Linked DNA regions of Homo sapiens: region 2 is linked to region 1. Evidence: promoter capture Hi-C in 16 types of primary human blood cells and fetal thymus (Javierre and others, 2016). All regions are on one chromosome and are shown on one strand. The core of a region is centred on a gene start or on the middle of the fragment in contact, and the rest is flanking DNA. Distances in the headings are between cores, read along the strand shown. Region 1 holds the start of ALKBH3 (alkB homolog 3, alpha-ketoglutarate dependent dioxygenase). Region 2 has its middle 15 kb from the start of HSD17B12.

Region 1 (3,302 bases), core at 803-3,302:
TCAACAAAATCGGACAAAATATCAGCCACATTTTAAACAATTCCTTGACGTCAATTGAAATGGAAGTCCATTATAAACCAAAAGGATATAAATAAAAGAGAATGAGAGTTGTCCATATCCACACACACACAAAATCCCTACAGATTCTTGCCTGGCTGAGCAATGGCCTGGCTTTTAACAGGGGCAGCCCAGGCTCCCTGAACTCGGGCTCGCCGTCTTTTTTCCTCCATGTTGACCAAAAAGGCTTCTGCTCCGAGCTTTCAGAAGATTTTGTTCCTGTTTCAAACTACTCCATGGTATCTGTTTATTAAAACAAAACAAAACAGTGCTTTTAGTTAGGATTGTGAACAATTACTCCTAAGGCATAATTAATTTCAGGCAGAAGACTCTCAATGGCAATAGAGCTTCCATGTAAAATCAGTTTATGTCATCACAACATTTCATTCAAGAAGCCTAGTCATTTGGGGCTGCTGGCTTTAGCATTCACCTTTTGTAATCTTACCATAGTACTTTTGTTTCTTTCACAAGAAAGTGCATTTTAAGAAATTCTAAAATTAGGACCTATTATAAACCACATTCCTCTTAATAGTCCCCAAGAGTAGAATATAAGGAAACTGTACTATTCCCATTTTCACCTACATGGACATTGAGAAATCGGCTAAGACTGTTTCCAAGCATATATTCCATTATCACTGGCTGCATCAAACTTCCCTGGAAGTTTGTTCAAAATACCTATGGCCCACCTTCAGAAAATCTGATTTAGGATGGATACAGGTATTTGTCTTTATAACAAGCAGTGTAAGATTTGACACAATGCAGGTATGTATGTGGACGGTAAAGTTCAATGATGCACCCAAAGCCACTCAGGAAATCAACAACAGACAGATTAACATTCAACTTATATTAAACTCCTGTCTCCAGCTAACGGATAAATCCACCTCATAATGGCTAATAATACTAATTTGACAGTTGTACCAGTAAAAGCTTAGCCTACAGCAAATGCAGAAGCACGTACAGCTACCAAAACAACAAGGAAATTCAAGCCACATGTTCCACATCTGTAATCTATTTCTTTATGCTTCTACCTAAGAAAGCTTCACACCTCAAGTTCTCAAAGGTAAAAGCTCGTTTTATATTAATAGCTTGCTTAGACTATAGATTCCCAGGTCCCATCTCCCACCTCTTCTGATTCAGTAGAGCTGAGCCAGGCCCAGGAATCTGTGTGTTTAACAAGTTCCCCCAGATGATAAGCATGTAATTCATTTCATTTAATAGGTGGAGAGACGCAGAGGCTGCCATCTGCCCAGAAGAGTTAATGACAATCAAATACCAATTCTCCAATCCCAGGAGCTCCCGTTTGACATGTTCTCTCAATTGAGGCCCTAAAAGCGTAACACAATTACCTACAGTCCCCGCAGAGGATACGACTTGCTCACCTTCTTGCTCCATTCACTGGGGAGCCATATGTTATTTGCCAGGGAACAATTGTTGAAAATAGATTCCAGAGCCCCATCCCAGATCTACTCAATTTGTAGAGTCCCAGAATTTGTTAACTAACGCCACCCTCAACCCAGGAATTCTTAATGCACATAAAGCTTGAGAACCAGTGCTGTAAAATACAAGGACTCTGGCGCCAGCCAGAACTCGCTTTGAATCCAGATCTGTCACTTCCCAGCTGCATGGCCCATGGCAAATGACTTCACCTTTCTGAGCCCCAGTTTTTCCTCAGTAAACAGGGCAGTCACTTTCCGCACGGTTGAGGTGCAGACTAAGCGAGCTCCGCAGGTGGAAGAGCTTGGTCGTGGATAAGGGCACTTCCTTTTCCTAATTTAGATCCTTCTCTTTAAGGAGGCCTAGAATGAGGCCCCGGAGGTCGCCCAGGAAGAGACTTCAGGGGTGGTACTCGCACCCCCAGCCCCGCGCACCCAGCAGTAAGTCAGGAAGGCGCACTTGCGGGCGGAGCCGGGCGCGCCCGTGCAAACCCGGTAGGACTTGGGGCAGCCCTCGCAGCCCCTGACCCACTCCGCAGTCTGTGATCGGAACCTTAAGAGTGAAGCACCGACTCCAGCAACTCCCAATCACAGGCCGCGGCATCAGGCACTTCCTCTCGACGTTACGCAGCGCCGCCACTACTTCCGGTGCGCAGTCCTCAGTCCGGGTAGTCCCACATCCCCCGCGCCTGGAGGGCCTAATCACCGAAGGTGCTGATGAGGGGATATGTGTTGCAGCGGACAGGGATTGAGAGTGCAGGGGAGCGGTGTGAAGGGGTCGGGGTTTGGCAAAGGTGGAAGTGAAGGCGTGTCTCCTACGTGAGTTCCTCGAAACTGGAGATGTCCAAGCATCGGCATCTTTGTGGCAGAAAGAGTGACCGGGTCCCTGTGGGACTAGATAAAGGGAGAGGAGTTTGGGGGACCTGGTTATAATGTGTTAGGCAAAAGGATTTGCATTTTATCCTAAAAACCACGGAGAGCCTGAAATGAGCCTCCTTTGTGTTCCTATTGCAGCCTGTGCACACCTCCGAACACAGCATTTACAGCAGGGCGTAGGACCACGCCTTAATTCACCTTGGCTCTCTCCAGTGCTAAGCAAATTTGCTTGAGTGAACAGACCTACATTTTGGCCCAGACACCACCACTTACTAGTTGTATAATCTAGGGCAAGTACTCTGCCTCTTTTTAAAATGGGTATCGCTCTTTTTGGGAGGATTAAGTGAGATAATGCATTTAAAGAATATAGCACAATGCCTGGAACACAACAAAAACTCAAAAAATGAAAAAGAGCTCACCCCATTTGAGCTCATGAGAAACATCTTTAAAATGGTCATGTTAAACCATGTACTTTACAGTATGAAAATAGCAAAAGTAGCACTGAATTGACTGTTTTATGCAAGTCATTCTCTAAGATCCGCCAAAGTATAGTCACTGTGGAAATCTTTAAAATAAGCCTGATATGAGTGTTTACCTTCAGGAAGCTCATTATAGGTACACCTCATCAATGTGTACCTATATTGTTGCTACTATCAAATCCATTTTCACAGCACTCATTATTATTTGTTATACTTTGTGACACTGAAGGAAAAAAATGATTTATCCTAGACCTGAAAGGAGAGAAAATGCTAAGGCCACACTACAGTTTTTTTCCCCCATCAACTAATTTGTCAATGTCTGCTTCTGGCTCAGGAACTTTGGCTGTATCTTCTAAAATATGTTATTTCTTTCTTTTCAATGATTATAGTTTTGGAACAGGAACAAAGAAGTCTGGATTGAGGAGTTCCTAAAAGTAGTGATTGACACCTCTTCAGC
Region 2 (3,304 bases), core at 743-3,242, 220 kb after region 1:
AAAAATAAATAAACTCAGTCAGAATTTTAAAACTATATAGTGTATCAGTTATCTCTACTTTTCTCTTAATTTATTACTTATGAATTGTTCATTTGTAGAAACAAGAATTGAAATGGTGTGACTATGGAAGCTGTGGCTTTGTTGCCTCACCTATCCCAAATCAGTTGGTTTGCTATCTGCAGGGAATAAAGAGCAAGTTATTAAAAGCAGTAAAAAGTAAACACGCAATTATTGAATAGTTGGTTATTCGTCCTCATTTCATTTGGGCTGTCTGGCAGATGTACTGACTTCATTCTCAACTCTTAAGAGTGATCTTAGGAAAATCGTCTCATGTTGCCCTGTTTACATGGAACATTTTAATAATCAGAATACCAGAAAATGTCGTGTGAAGTATAGTGAACGACATTCACATTATCTATACAGGGTATCTAAACATATTTTCCTGTCTCTAGCCTCCTTCTATTAATTTTCCTTATTTTGTATTATGAGAATGTTAATGAGTCCCCTCAAAATCTTCTTTCAAACTAGGCAAAGAATGAAAAATAGGCCAGCACTTTGGGAGGCCCAGGCAGGTGGATCACTTGAGTTCAGTAGTTTGAGACCAGCCTAGGCAACATGGTGAGATGCTGTCTCTACAAAACAAACAAACAAAAAATGGCCAGGTGTGGTGGTGTGCGCCTGCAGTCCCAGCACTTTGGGAAGCTGAGGCAGGAGGACTGCTTGAGTCCAGGAGTTTAAGACCAGCCTGGGCAGTATGGCAAAACTCTGTCTTTGCCAAAAAAATAAAAGTTACCTGGGCGGGGTGGTGTGTGCCTAAGGTCCCAGCTGCTAGGGGAGCTGAGGTTGGGAGGATCTATTGAGCCCAGGAGGTTGAGGCTGCAGTAAGCCATGACTGCACCACTGCACTCCAGCCTGGGTGATAGAGTAAGACCCTGCCTCAAAAAAATAAAAATAAATATTTCCCCTTTCCTAGCACCCAGATATTGAGAAAATGGAGGGACTAGCATGCCTAAGGGCTCTAAAGTGGAAAAAATGCAGGAAGGAAGAAAGAGTAGCATGACTGGAGTGGAAAGGAAGGGAGGGTGGGAATGGGAATGATGGAAAGCTAATTTAAAAGTGAGCCAGGTGTGGTAAGATGCACCTGAGTCTGTGGTTAACCACATACAACCATAAAATATCCTTGGCGTACAATAAACTCCATCTACTTCTCATTCCCAACTTGTCTACTCCGTGGGTTGACAAGAATTTGGCCAATATAGGCTGATATCAGCAGGCTTTGCTCCAGGCCAAGGGTTGGATTTATCTTTGCTGTTTCTCTCAATTAGCTGGGATCACCCAGATCAGAAGATAATTTTAGACAAGGCATGCTTGTGTGTGTGTGTGTGTGCATGCGCGTGTGTGCGTGTGTAGAGCAAAGCATATCAGGAATAGAATCTTCTTTTTCTTTTTCAGAATGAGCCCTCAGTTGTGTGACCTTGGCCATTCTGGTATTTAGTTAGCTTACCTGTAAAATGGGGATGCAAATAATGTCTACCTTTCAGGGAGGATGACACCAAGAAACCTGAAGGACCTACTAGATTTACACTTCCACAAGTGGTCAATGGATTATTTGCTTCATCTCATTCTCATCAATAGTAGTTATCACCAGGCATGGTGGCTCACTCCTGTAACCCCATCACTTTAGGAGGCTGAGACGGGAAGATCACTTGAGGTCAGGAGTTCGAGATCAGTATGGGCAACATAGTGGGATCCTGTCTCTACAAAAAATTTAAAAATTAGCTGGGCATGGTGGCGCATGCCTGCAGTCCCAGCTACTCAGGAGGCTGAGGCACAAGAATCGTTTCAACCCGGGAGATGGAGGTTGCAGTGGGCCCAGATCGCACCACCGCACTCCAGCCTAGGCGACTAAATAAATAAATAAAACTTTAAAACCAGAGTTTTAGTTAGGGAAAAACAACCTTTGTCAAGACATGAGTAATTCTAGGGCTTTGTTTTCTGCTTCCAATCTATGCACTGTGTCAGACACTTCTCTTTCAGAATTGCCTTATTTACAACTATTAATATATTATGTATTACATTATCATGTATATTACGTGTTTAAGAAGGATATGAATGAACATTTTTTCTATAAAGACTTTAACATGGGTCTCTTTCTGATCTGGATTTGCAGGAAGACCAAAAGCCTTCACAGGATCCTCATAAATAAGCTCTTCATTCATCGTTTCATGAACGAGACATTTTAATCTTTTAAATGCAAATGTTAGAAAGACTTGCTTTCCAAAAACCAAGAATATTCCTTATTCATGCAAGATGTTTAGTAAACTGGGCTTAACATTAAAAACTCCGTTACTAGAAATCCTATTAATTGCAAATTTATGGAGAAACAACAAGAAATAATTTGTGTATGAGACAGAGCAGGGACCCCTCTTAGGGACTTGTGGGCACCCCCAAGCATGAAAATAAAGGAACATCTTAAATTCCTTCAAGGGAAGTTCCAGGCTCCTAGCTAGTCTTGAGAAGTAAATGAGCAACTTCATAAGCAAGAAGGTAGGAGTAGCCTAGAACAATAGCCATGGAAGTTAGAGTGATGTTTGGTTCCCTATGTAAAAAAACTAAAGATAACATCTTAACACATGTCCCTGTGTTATTTTTCAGAAACACAGACCCCCACCAAATGGATCGGCTGGCACATAGGCCTCAGATAAGAGGGAACTGAGGAATGAACTCTGAGGCCTGCTGTTTTTTGTTCTAAATTTCTTCTTGAGGGGCCTGGAGGAAGTCATGCCCATGAGCCAGTACAAATATTCTTTTCTGCTGACCCCAAATTTTTAAACAGAGCTTCTCTCCCTTACTCAAACTGCAAATGAGAACATCTTTGAATCTACATATGGTCTGTAAGCCTCTGCTTCAAGATATCCCACCCTTTTAGGCCAAACCAATGTATAACCTCCATATACTGATTTATGACTTAGCCTGTAACCTCTGCCTCCCTGCCTTAGAAACCCTTACCTGGGCCGGGCATAGTGGCTCAAGCCTGTAATCCCAGCACTTTGGGAGGCTGAGGCAGGCAGATCACGACATCAGGAGTACTGAGACCAGCCTGACCAATATGATGAAACCCTGTCTCTACTAAAAATACAGAAATTAGCCAGGCATGGTGGCGCATGCCTGTCATCCCAGCTACTCAGGAGAATCGCTTGAACCCAGGAGGCAGAGGTTGCAGTGAGCTGAGATCACGCCACTGCACTCCAGCCTGGGCAACAGGGCGAGACTCCATCTCAAAAAAAAAATAATAAAAATAAAA

What was found. The method cuts DNA at HindIII sites, captures the fragments that hold promoters and counts their contacts. A CHiCAGO score of 5 or more calls a contact.
Region 2: a contact is called between a fragment that was not itself captured here and the fragment with the promoter of ALKBH3 in region 1, in 1 of 17 cell types (neutrophils). The highest score is 7.4, in neutrophils.

Annotation. Positions count from the first base shown.
Region 1 is chr11:43,879,581-43,882,882 of GRCh38, reverse strand. ALKBH3 (alkB homolog 3, alpha-ketoglutarate dependent dioxygenase) reads right to left here and starts at 2,052. Exons shown (of 10, transcript NM_139178.4): 1 at 1,704-2,052; 2 at 152-300. The coding sequence starts at 230. LOC105376644 (a long non-coding RNA gene) reads left to right here and starts at 2,146. Exons shown (of 3, transcript XR_001748200.2): 1 at 2,146-2,201. RefSeq lists an enhancer at 2,067-2,266. The HindIII fragment of the contact is 7,136 bases long and covers 1,598-3,302 here.
Region 2 is chr11:43,663,857-43,667,160 of GRCh38, reverse strand. It overlaps a transcript of HSD17B12 not described here. Among named protein-coding and RNA genes, the nearest start is that of HSD17B12, 15 kb to the left of the region's middle. The HindIII fragment of the contact is 9,786 bases long and covers 1-3,304 here.